2 separate regions of the Homo sapiens genome follow, and region 1 is linked to region 2. The links are contacts of gene promoters, found by promoter capture Hi-C in blood cells and fetal thymus (Javierre and others, 2016). All regions are on one chromosome and are shown on one strand. Each heading gives the region's core, a stretch centred on a gene start or on the middle of the fragment in contact. The rest is flanking DNA. Distances are from core to core; before and after follow the strand shown. Region 1 overlaps MYCBP2 (MYC binding protein 2). Region 2 holds the start of FBXL3 (F-box and leucine rich repeat protein 3).

Region 1 (5,452 bases), core at 1,762-4,261, 230 kb before region 2:
TTAGTCTCGTATTTCAGGTACAGGATTTGATGAGGAGTCAGCAATTCTTGGTGCAGGACGAGAGTTTGCGCTAATGAAAACAGCAAATGGAAAGGTAAATTATTCTCTTTGGATTAAAAATGAGCATTCTCTGATTTAAGAGATTAAAATACAATCTGTTGATTAGTTTATATAGTTTGCATGTTTAAGAAGAATCATCTTTTAAATTTTGATTTAAAATTATTTTTTATAAGATAAAATTTTATTCATGTAGGGAACAGTACAGGCATGCCTCATTTTATTGTGCTTAGTTTTGTTACACTTCACAAATAATTGCTCTTTTTACAAATTGAAGGTTTGTGACAACCCTGAGTTGAGCAAGTCTGTTGGCATCATTTTTCTAACCGCCTGTGCTCACTTTGTGTCTCTGTGTCACACTTTGGTAATTCTCGAAATATTTCAGACTTCTTTATTATTATTATATCTGTTATGGTGATCTGTTATCTTTGATGTTACTATTGTAATTATTTTAGGGTGCTGTGAATTGTGCCTATAGAAGACAGGAAACTTAATGGATAAAAGATATGAAAAAGCTATTATGAACTGTGTCTTCTTGGCAAAATATGTGTATTTCTTGCTCAACTCCCAGAAGCTGAATAGTGTAAAAAAGAGTTTGTTTTTATGTGAATTTTATTTTTCAATAAAATATTGATGTCCTTTTTTTTCCTCATGTGAAACCTGATGCACTATTCCAAAAAGTACCATAATTCCTTTTTTTTTTTAATACATAAGATATATTACACTGGCAAATACCAGAGTCTTGGAATCAAACAAGGTGGTCCTTCAGCAGGAAAATGGGTTGAGCTACCAATTACAAAATCTCCAAAGATAGTACACTTCTCAGTTGGACACGATGGCTCTCACGCCCTTTTAGTTGCAGAAGATGGGAGCATATTCTTTACAGGATCTGCTAGTAAAGGAGAAGATGGAGAATCAAGTAAGTTGAGTGATCAACTATGCATTTAATAAAAATAAATGCTTTATTTTAGTAAAAATAAAACTTTATTAAGATAAAGTTTATGAATTTCAATAACACCACACCAACTTTATATATATATCATTGACTTGATGTAACTGCTTAATAAATACATATTGAATGAATGAGGAACTTATTTTACTTTCCAGGATCTAACAAGAATACATGTGAATTACAACTTGGGAAAAAAAGGAGATTTTAGATATGTGTTAGTAGAATGGTATTAATAATGCAATAGCTAATTTAGAGATTGGGCCCTCCAGGAGTTTGGTAGAAAACTAATATTACTCACTGAGAATTTGAATGTACTTCAGGGAATGAGGATCTAGCAATGATAGCGTAAATATTAATTGACCAGATGAGGCTAGCAGGTTCACTGATTTTAAATGACATGTTGGGAAGCCCAGGCCTTTGTGAAAATAAACAAATAGTGTCATAAATGCAAATAATATGGGTTTTTTTTTTAGCTTTATATACAAACCATTATTATTATTATTTGTACATAGAGGTCTTGATTTAATCTAATTTCTTTTTTAAAGCTAAGAGCAGACGGCAATCCAAACCTTATAAACCTAAAAAGATAATTAAGATGGAAGGAAAGATTGTGGTATATACAGCCTGCAATAATGGAAGTAGTTCTGTTATTTCTAAAGATGGAGAACTCTACATGTTTGGAAAAGATGCCATTTACTCTGATAGTTCAAGTAAGTTAATAAAAAGTTTTACTTTTATGCAAAGAAGTTTCAATACTAGTTATGTATGACAAAGACATATCTAGAAAATTTATGTTGGTGGCATGCTTTCTCTACATTTTTTACATTTCCTTCCAAATGTGAAATATTTCGAAAGAGAAATTTTCTGTCATATCTTGTCACTAGGAGCACTGTCCCTAGTTTCATGCAAAGCTAATCATAGAGCTTGGCAAGGGAAGCTTCGCTGTAGCTGTGACTTCTGTGGATGTTTTCCCTAGACTCAGGTGCTTATGGGACATGTCCCTGGGACAGTGGTAGTATCCTGAAGAAGTGATTTTCATGACATAGCTAGTTTATAATTGTTGAAGTATTTTATCTCCCCCATTAGGGTGTTTGGCTGGGATGATCTGTCTTATTTACTATTCTATCCCCAGTGCCCAGCACAGTGTCTGGCACATTGTAGGGTCTCAAGAATTATTTTCTAGTGCCTGGGTGACTGATAAACCAAAAGTTTGAGAAGTGGATATGAGGGGTAGAACTAGCTAAATGGTTTTATATTTATAAATGCTAATCTCAAAAACTTGTCATATTTGGTTACTAGATTTTCTTTCTAGCAGCTAGAAATGAATATAATGAGTGAAGCATCCCACTTGGAAGGATTTTATGTGTGATAAATATGTAAAGCCTTTGAGTTTCTTTGTAAAAAAGGAAACTAGAATTAATGAAGTTTATGATTAGAAATATATGTAATTGTCCCATGCTGGGGAAATTACACCTGTAGAACATTTATAGCAATTAATTATTAAGTGGAGGTGTACCCAGATGATAAGTGAACTGGCTTAATGTTGTAATATTTAGATTCTCAATTGGCTGCAGCTATCAGAGTAAATCAAAATTTGGGAGTGGGTTCTTGTACAGTTTAAAAATAATATTCAATATAATTGTTGCTTGCTAACATCCACTGGGTAGAGCTGATGGAAACTTGTATATTTCTTCAACATATATTTATTGAGCATGGGTGATACATTAGTGATTGATGGACCTGACAGACCTGGATACTGCCTTTTTGAGGATCCGAGAGACAGTTGGGTATTACAGAACTTAAATATTGGGGAAGTGGTATTGAATGGTTATGGACATAGACTGAGATCCTAGCACCAACACTTTTTTTTTTTGAGAGGGAGTCTCACTCTGTCTCCCAGGCTGGAGTGCAGTGGCACAATCTCAGCTTACTGCAACCTCTGCCTCCTAGGTTCCAGCGATTGTCCCACCTCAGCCTCCCAAGTAGCTGAGATTATAGGCACGTGCCACAACACCCAGCTAATTTTTTGTATTTTTTGTATTTTTAGTAGAGACGAGGTTTCACTGTGTTGGCCAGGCTGGTCTCGAACTCCTGACCTCAAGTGATACACTCGCCTCAGCCTCCTCAAGTGCTGGGAATACAGGCGTGAGCCACCGCGCATGGCCCTTGGCACCAACGCTTTTAATTGGGTAACAGTTTACTTAATCTTTAACTGGGTAACAGTTTACTAAACATTTAAGAGTTTTCTTTTTGTTTTTTTCTACCTGCAAAAAATAGATAATGATAGCACCTGCTTCATATAGTTGTTATGAAGATTATAGGAGGTAGAACTTAAGAAATGCTTAGCACATCATGTAAGGTCTCAAAGCATGTCAGCTAGTACTGTTAATAATAATAATAAATAACTACTGTTTTATATATATACACACACCCTTACCTTTTTCAAATGTGCTAAATATTAAAAGTGGAAATTTTTGAGGTATAATTAACAAAAAGACCTAAACTAGTGAAAGGTGAAAGTGAAGGCCACCTTAAGGTAGTGATATCTGAGCTAATAATGTAGAACAGTTTTCCCAAAGCATAATATGAGATTGATACTATTTGTAATTTAAATAAAACAAATACTTGATAACATGTTTTTATTTTAATGTATATTGGAAAAATAATAATCTTTGATTGTTAATGTTAAAGATGCTTCAATCAATTTAGAGTTGATACAAAACATATTAAATAGATAATATGAGTGGCACTTGGATATGACAAATATAATGAAAGTAATACATGAATAAGTGAAGTTTAGAAAATAACTGTGTATTGGATTGTGGAAGAAAGCATTGTAGGTTGAAAAGGATTAAAAAATACTGTTTTGAAAAGTCTCACTGGTTTCTACATAAACAATTTCATGTCAATATACTATGGCAAGTATTTTACTTTGTTTTGCTGAGGCAGGTCAAAGCAGGTAAAATAAATTATTTATGGACTCCTTTGTGCTTAGACCAGAAAAGTTTGAAAGTACTGTGGAGAGGTATTACCATTTGGAGGAAGCATTCAGGAGAAGTAAGCTTGAGAGAAAGCTACAGTAAAGATATGTCCCAAGTCTGGATGATAATGTTTTAGGATTCACTGAAGCTACGTTACAAAGTTACAAAGTTAATTCAGTGATACTCTGCCAGTCTTTTGGCTACTTATTTCTCATTTTGTTGAGTTATTTTGCCCCAGAAATAAACGGTTCTGCATTGAGGTAGTTCTTTTACTAGGCTCAGAAGGGCCTTTTTGTTGTTTTTACTAAATTTGTTTCTTTCCTATAGGTTTGGTAACTGATTTGAAGGGCCATTTTGTAACTCAGGTAGCTATGGGCAAAGCTCACACTTGTGTTTTAATGAAGAATGGAGAGGTGTGGACATTTGGTGTAAATAATAAAGGACAGTGTGGACGAGATACTGGTGCCATGAACCAAGGTGGGAAAGGTAGGTCTTTAATTCTTAGATATTAAAATTTGTGTTGTCTTTTCATTAGTTTTTCAGAACAACATAGTGAAAAGTCTTGTTCTTTTCAAAATGAGTGGCTCTTCTTTTTCTTTTTGTTCCTATTTAAATTTTTTTTAAAAATTTTATGGGTAGATAGTAGGTATATGTATGGGGTACATGAGTTGTTTTGATACAGGCCTACAATGTGTAATAATAATCACAGGGTAAATGGGGTCTCCATCATCTCAAGCATGTATCCTTTCTTTGTGTTATGAGCACTCCAGTTATACTCCCTCAGTTGTTAAAGTATACAAAAAATTATCGCCAACTGTAGCCACCCTGTTGTGCTATCAAATAGTAGATCTCTTGTATCTAATTATATTTTTGTGCCAACTAACCATCCCATTTCCCACCCACTCTCCCTGACTACCCTTCCCAGTCTCTAGTAACCAGCATTGTACTCTCTATCTTCATGAGTTCAATTGTTTTAATTTTTAGCTCCCACAAATGAGTGACAACATGTGAAGTTGGTCTTTCGGTGCCTGGCTTCTTTCACTTAACATAATATCCTCCAGTTACATCCTTGTTGTTGCAAATGATAGGATCTCAGTGTTTTTTATGGTTAAATAGTACTACCTTGTGTTTATATGCCACATTTTCTTTATCCACTCATCTGTTGATGGACACTTAGGTTGCTTCCAAATCTTGGCTATTGTGAATAGTGCTGCAATAAACATGAGAGTGCAGATATCTCTTTGATGTACTAATTTCCTTTCTTTTGGGTATATCCATAGCAGTGGGATTGTTGGATCATATTGAGTTCTAGTTTCAGTTTTTTGGGGAAGCTCCATACTGTTCTCTCCAGAGTGGCTGTACTAAATTTACATTCTCACTAACAGTGTACAAGTGTTCCCTTTTCTCCACATCCTCTCCAACATTTGTTATTGCCTGTCTTTTGGATAAAAGCCACGTTAAC
Region 2 (5,540 bases), core at 918-3,417:
AGGAATTACAAGATGGTATTTAAGGAACTACTGCAACATAATCTAATCTATCCTGATCATTGGTGTACCAAGGCTGGGGTGGTGTGGGAATAGTCTACACCATTCTACGTGGTGGAGGGGGTACATTGTCTGTGGATAATTTAAAACAATAATAAAGAGACTAATTGTTCATCTGCTTTTTATTACCACATGCATTGGCAATTCCAAACAGGGTCAGTAATAAATTATTTTTCCCAGTTGGATCAATGTGCTCCACACTCATCCTTTCTCCCACCTACCATGCCACTGATCTTGATGATACAATTGATAAATGTAAATAAGTACTGACTGATTAAAAAATAAACGTTTTTTTTCAAAAAAAATGAGGTGAAATAAAATATTTGCCAATAACAGGGAAGAAAAGGGGTATTCAATAGGTCAAGTGTGCCAAGGTCCTTGTCTTGTTTAGGAGGAGAATAGATCATAATGGCGAAAAAAGAAAAAAAAGAACTATGATTGGAATGTGATATAACCGTAATGTGATACAATATTAACGTAATGCAACCTATGCTCATCATGTTTACTGAATTGGTTTAATGTATTTTGCTGATCATTTATACTGTTCACCCAACTTTAAATAAATGGGCCTGTATTTGACTTATTTGTTTTTCCTTAATAATTATCATTGTCCTTCTTAGAACTTCCTATTGTTCCTCATCATCCAGTCACTGAGGGACCTAAACAAATGTTGCAGCTCAGGCAAATCCACACTCTTATGCTACTAGAGGCTTTGTACAGTTTGATTCAGTGATCTGACAGCTGACAGGCCCTTAAAAAACACCGAACAAACAACACTGGCATTTCCCCACATTGAATTCATTTTATTATAGAAACAGTCTCACTCTCTCACCCAGACTGAAGTGCAGTGGTGACATCATAGGTCACTGTAACCTCCTACTCCTGGGCTCCAGCCATCCTCTCGATTCAGCCTCCTGAGTAGTAGCCGGGATTACACCAAGCTCGTCTGATTTTTTAAAATTATTACTCTTCTATTTTTTTGTAGAGACAAGAGTCTGGACATATTGCGCAGGCTGGTCTCCAATTCTTGACCACAAGCAACCCTTCTGCCTTGGCTTCCCAAAATGTTGGGATTACAGACATAAGCCTGTACCACTCCTGGCCTCACACTGAACTTCGACGTAACTTTATACATGGCTTCCTAGCTCAATTTCTTGAGAAAACGGGAAGAACGGAGAGCTCCCTGGGCACCACTGCTTTTCAGTGTCTTATACATGGGTCTGAGTGTTCTAAGACATCTTTGAATGGAAAACTACTTTCTCTCTTTTTTTTTGGAGGTGTAGAGAGGAATGGCGCATGATTCAACTTAATGATATTGCACCTAAGAATGTTTCTAACTGTAAGAAAACGCAGTATCAAAAAATCCAAACTTTAAAACAAGTCAACTAGGTAGCAGTTACAAAGATGCCTTGATTTACAAAAGGATTCACCAGAGGTTTTCTTTTCAGCAGCTTTGTAATCCTTTACTTTCCCCATTGCGTTTCAAAAGCTATTTACAAATTTCAGGACTCTATTTCATAAAGCAAATGTCGTTTTTAAAATGTAATAACTCTAATGATAAAAGCCACTTTAGAAATATTGGGAAATACAAATATTTGAAAAACAAAAACCATGTGCAATCCCAGCGTTAATACTCTCACTATTCTGGTACATTTCCTTGGCATCTTTTAAGCACCACTTATGCACATCGATGCGCGGGTCTTCGGAGACTGTATTTAACTCCTCGGTTTCAGGCATCCGGGGCGGCCACCCGCGGGCCGCGGTCCCCAGCAGGCTCCGGCGAGACTCCTTCCTTTCTTTTTTCTGCTCCACCTCCCTAAACCTTCCAGTTTCAGCCACAGATAGTCTCTTCCACATATAGCTAGCTTCAGCCCTCCCACATTCCATCTCAAAACAACAAAAAAAATCCCCTTCAAGCGGGAGTCACATCTCTGGCAGGAAGGCAGAGGCTCGTCCCACAGCAAGGAGACTGGGGCGGCCGCAGCGCGCGCTCCCGCTTGGGCGCGGCCCTACTCCCGCCGGGCTCCGCCCCCCCCCCGCCCCCTTCCCGCCCCCTTGGGCGGGGACGCGCCAGGGAAGCGCGCGGCCGCGAGCCCTGGGCGCCATTTTAGACTCGCTGTTTGTGGCCCAGGTGCAGGAAGCTTACGCGGTGGCAGCCGCTCGCTGAGGTAGTCTCTCGCGGCGCCGGGGATCCCTGAACACAGACAGCGCGGGACTGAGAAGGAAAGCTTCTTTCTGGGCAGCCAGAGCCGCAAAGGTGGAGCCGCGTTGGCGCCCTCCGCGGGACCAGCGCCTCGGATGCGGGCGGAGCGCGGGGGGCCGCGGCTGCGGGAGCGCGAAGCGGGGGGCCAGGGGCGCCTCATGTGAGAGCCGCGGGACCTGCAGCCGCCGCCGTCCCCGGAGCACGGGGTGGTGTGTGGGGGAAGCCGCCCCCGGCAGCAGGTAACGGCGGAGGGGCAGGGCCGAGCCCCGCTGCGACGGCGGAGCCGGGGAGGGACCGCGGACCGTCTGTGGGCGGGCCGGGGTGGGGTGGGGTGGGGGGGGGCGCGGGGGCCGGGGCGCGCGCGGGCCGCTCCTCAGGAGTGCCGGGCGGGGCGCGGGGCGCGGCACCCAGACCTTGGAGCTTGCTTGGGGGCGTTTCCCCGCCGTGCCTGCTTCCAAACATGTCAACAAGGCGTGGTGCGTGTGCGGCGGCCGCCTGCAGCCTGCCCGCGACGCCGCCGCTCCCGGGTTCGCCGCGGCTCCTGCCAGGCTTTATGACCCTTGGCGGGGGCTGGTGACAGGCACCATGGAGCTCGCACTCTGTGGGCTCTCCCGGCGTCGGCTACGCCCGTGCTGGTAGCTTGAGCAATGAGGCACTGAAATGTCAAAGCAAACTGCCCAGGGTGGGGCGCATGAGAAATGTCAGGGGAAGCCAGTCGGTGGGGAGGTGGCGCAGGGAGGAGGGGACGCCCCTGCCGCTTAGCCAGGCGAAAAACTTGGTCAACTTGTGTTGAGCGGATTCGCGTCTGCCTTTGGCGTGGGCAGTCCTTTAGGTGGGGTTGCAGACAGGGGTCAGGAAGCAGCCCAGTAAATGGTCTGTATCTCCAAGCTGAGAGGTGAGAGAGATCATTTTTATTTTGTCGTTGCTAATGATATCCAGTTGAGTGACCCAGATTTTTTAATTAGAATCCTCCTTTTCTAACTTGAAAAAAAAGTAACTTAGTTTCTGTTATCTCTGAAATATTTATAAAAATACCATCAACTATCAGTTATCTATCTATCTATATGACCTGTAGACAGATTTTCGCCACTGTGCGCTCTCTAAGCATTTAGTTGTGAGTTAACCTCTTTATAGTGTTTTATTCTTGTAGTTCAGCCAAAGAATGCATATTAGTTTGATATTAGTAAAAGCAGAACAGAAAGGAACTGTGATGCCAAAATAGGCTTTTTAGAGTTAACTACAAATGAGCATTTAAAATTATTGCATGCCCAGTGTAAAAGTGCCTAATACAACGATGCACACGGCTAGCTGTTCACTTCCGGTCTTCACCTAATGAAGTTGCTTCTTTCAAAGTTTTTTTTTTTTTTTTTTTTTTTTTGAGACAAGGACTCACTTTGTCACCCAGGCTGGAGTGCAGTGGCGCGATCTCGGCTCTAGCGATCCTCCCACCCCAGGCTCCCTAGTAGCTGAGACTACAGGCATGGGCCACCATGCCCAGCTAATTTTTGTAGAGACAGGTTTCATCGTGTTGCCCAGGCTGGTCTCAAACTACTGAGCTCAAGCGATCCGCCCGCCTTGTCCTCCCAAAGTGCTGGGATTACAGGCGTGGCCCACCGCGCCCACCTGGAAAGTTTATGGAACATAGAGTTAGTTCACTAACTCCTTGTGCTGCTCAGCTAGTCTGTGGTCTTTCCTCAGTAGTTTGCTATTTAGCAGTTTGTAGTCATATCAGTCCCTCACCAAAAGCTGTGGTGGCCTAAGTTGCATTATTTGGGGCCTAGAAGCTTTGCAGGAAATTAAACTGCCAGAGCCCTGAAGAGGCCTAGTTTTGGTGCTCTAGATTTCTAGAGTCTAGAATGTCTCATTGACGTTTTATAGTACAGCTTGGTTCTCCACACTTCTTTTCAAATATAGGAGGTGTTTTCACTTTGACAAAAGTAGGAATTATAGGGTCCATTGATGTAAATTATTTGCAGGCTGGAAGATGCTCTGAGATGTTTAATTTTATGTATAGCAGAGTTTCATGTGTAAATAGATTTAATAAGATACTATTAAAGTAGTGTAAATTTTTTCATACATAAATGAAATCAACTTGGAAAAATTGACATTTAAAATTTTAAGTGTCCACTCACTTCTGTTATTTTCATGCACAAATGAGGATAGTGCAGAGGATATTTTTATTGGAATTTGGCCTTACATTTTTTTCAATTGCTTAATGCACTATAATTGTAACATAGACATATTACGTATGACAATTAACAGACTTAATTCAGCTATTTGTAAACTGGTAAGTTCTTAAAATAGGCTTTGGTGATCATATAGTGTTTTTATATCTAGATCAAGAGATACTGTCCCTTAGTGTTGCATACTGTTAAAAAAAATTTTGTCAACTTCTTTAACCTGAACTTGGAAAGGTATTTAAGTACATTTTATTTAAAACAGTACTATAATAGACAAAAGAAAGTTTCTATTTTTAGGACCAGCAAAGTATTTATTAGCAAAGACTATTATGTGAATAAGGCTACCATTTTATTTTTGTTTATATATCCATATACTCTAAAGTAAAATGAATCATTCCGTCTTTAAGTTGTCTAGTTCTGGTTTTAGAAGATTGTTCTCCAGAAACAGGCAATCAGTATTCTATAATAAGGTGTAGAAATTGCAAAGACTGTCATTCTTTTTTGAATCTCTGTATCTCAAAATTGTGAGTAGTTTTAGGTGGTCAGAAGAGAAATTATAAGCTCTGGATAGCAAACACTTTGTTCTTTGACCCAAATTTTATATACTAAAATTAAAGTAAGCCTTCAGGGTAAGTTAAAGCAGAAAAATGGGTCATAATAACAGTGTTATCTCAGCCTCTAGTGAGGGATTATTATTAGAAGAGACTTAATATTAAAGATTACAGTGTAGACTATACACTTTTCTCTAAACTTATTAAAAAAAAACTAATCTCAAGTCACACATAATTTCCAGTCTTCCATCAGACTACCTTCTTGCTGTCACCTCTGTCATTCTATTTTCTCTCTTGTTCTCTCCCTGATCAGTAGGGTATACGTAATATATTTTATTCACATAGTTGGGAATAGGAGCAGTGAAGAATAGGCAGTTTATTGCACATATGCTAAGACGTCTTTGACTGACTTTCATGGCATTAAGGTCAGAGGCCTCTGCCATTCTCTTTTTACTCTCCAGCCCTCAATCCTCTTTCACAAGTTTTGCGAGGTACTGGGTGGAGAAAGTCTGCAGAAACATTTGTTTTACAGTAATGCATATGCATATC

The links. Contacts are between HindIII fragments. The CHiCAGO score rates a contact against its expected background, and 5 or more counts as called.
Region 1: a contact is called between a fragment that was not itself captured here and the fragment with the promoter of FBXL3 in region 2, in 1 of 17 cell types (total B cells). The highest score is 7.2, in total B cells.

The regions. Positions count from the first base shown.
Region 1 is chr13:77,256,695-77,262,146 of GRCh38, reverse strand. It overlaps MYCBP2 (MYC binding protein 2), which reads left to right. Exons shown (of 83, transcript NM_015057.5): 11 at 18-94; 12 at 772-976; 13 at 1,555-1,719; 14 at 4,318-4,476. Among named protein-coding and RNA genes, the nearest start is that of MYCBP2, 68 kb to the left of the region's middle. The HindIII fragment of the contact is 2,125 bases long and covers 1,949-4,073 here.
Region 2 is chr13:77,023,786-77,029,325 of GRCh38, reverse strand. FBXL3 (F-box and leucine rich repeat protein 3) reads left to right here and starts at 2,167. Exons shown (of 5, transcript NM_012158.4): 1 at 2,167-2,499. RefSeq lists silencers at 2,047-2,096, 2,267-2,546, 2,567-2,626. The HindIII fragment of the contact is 14,791 bases long and covers 1-2,200 here.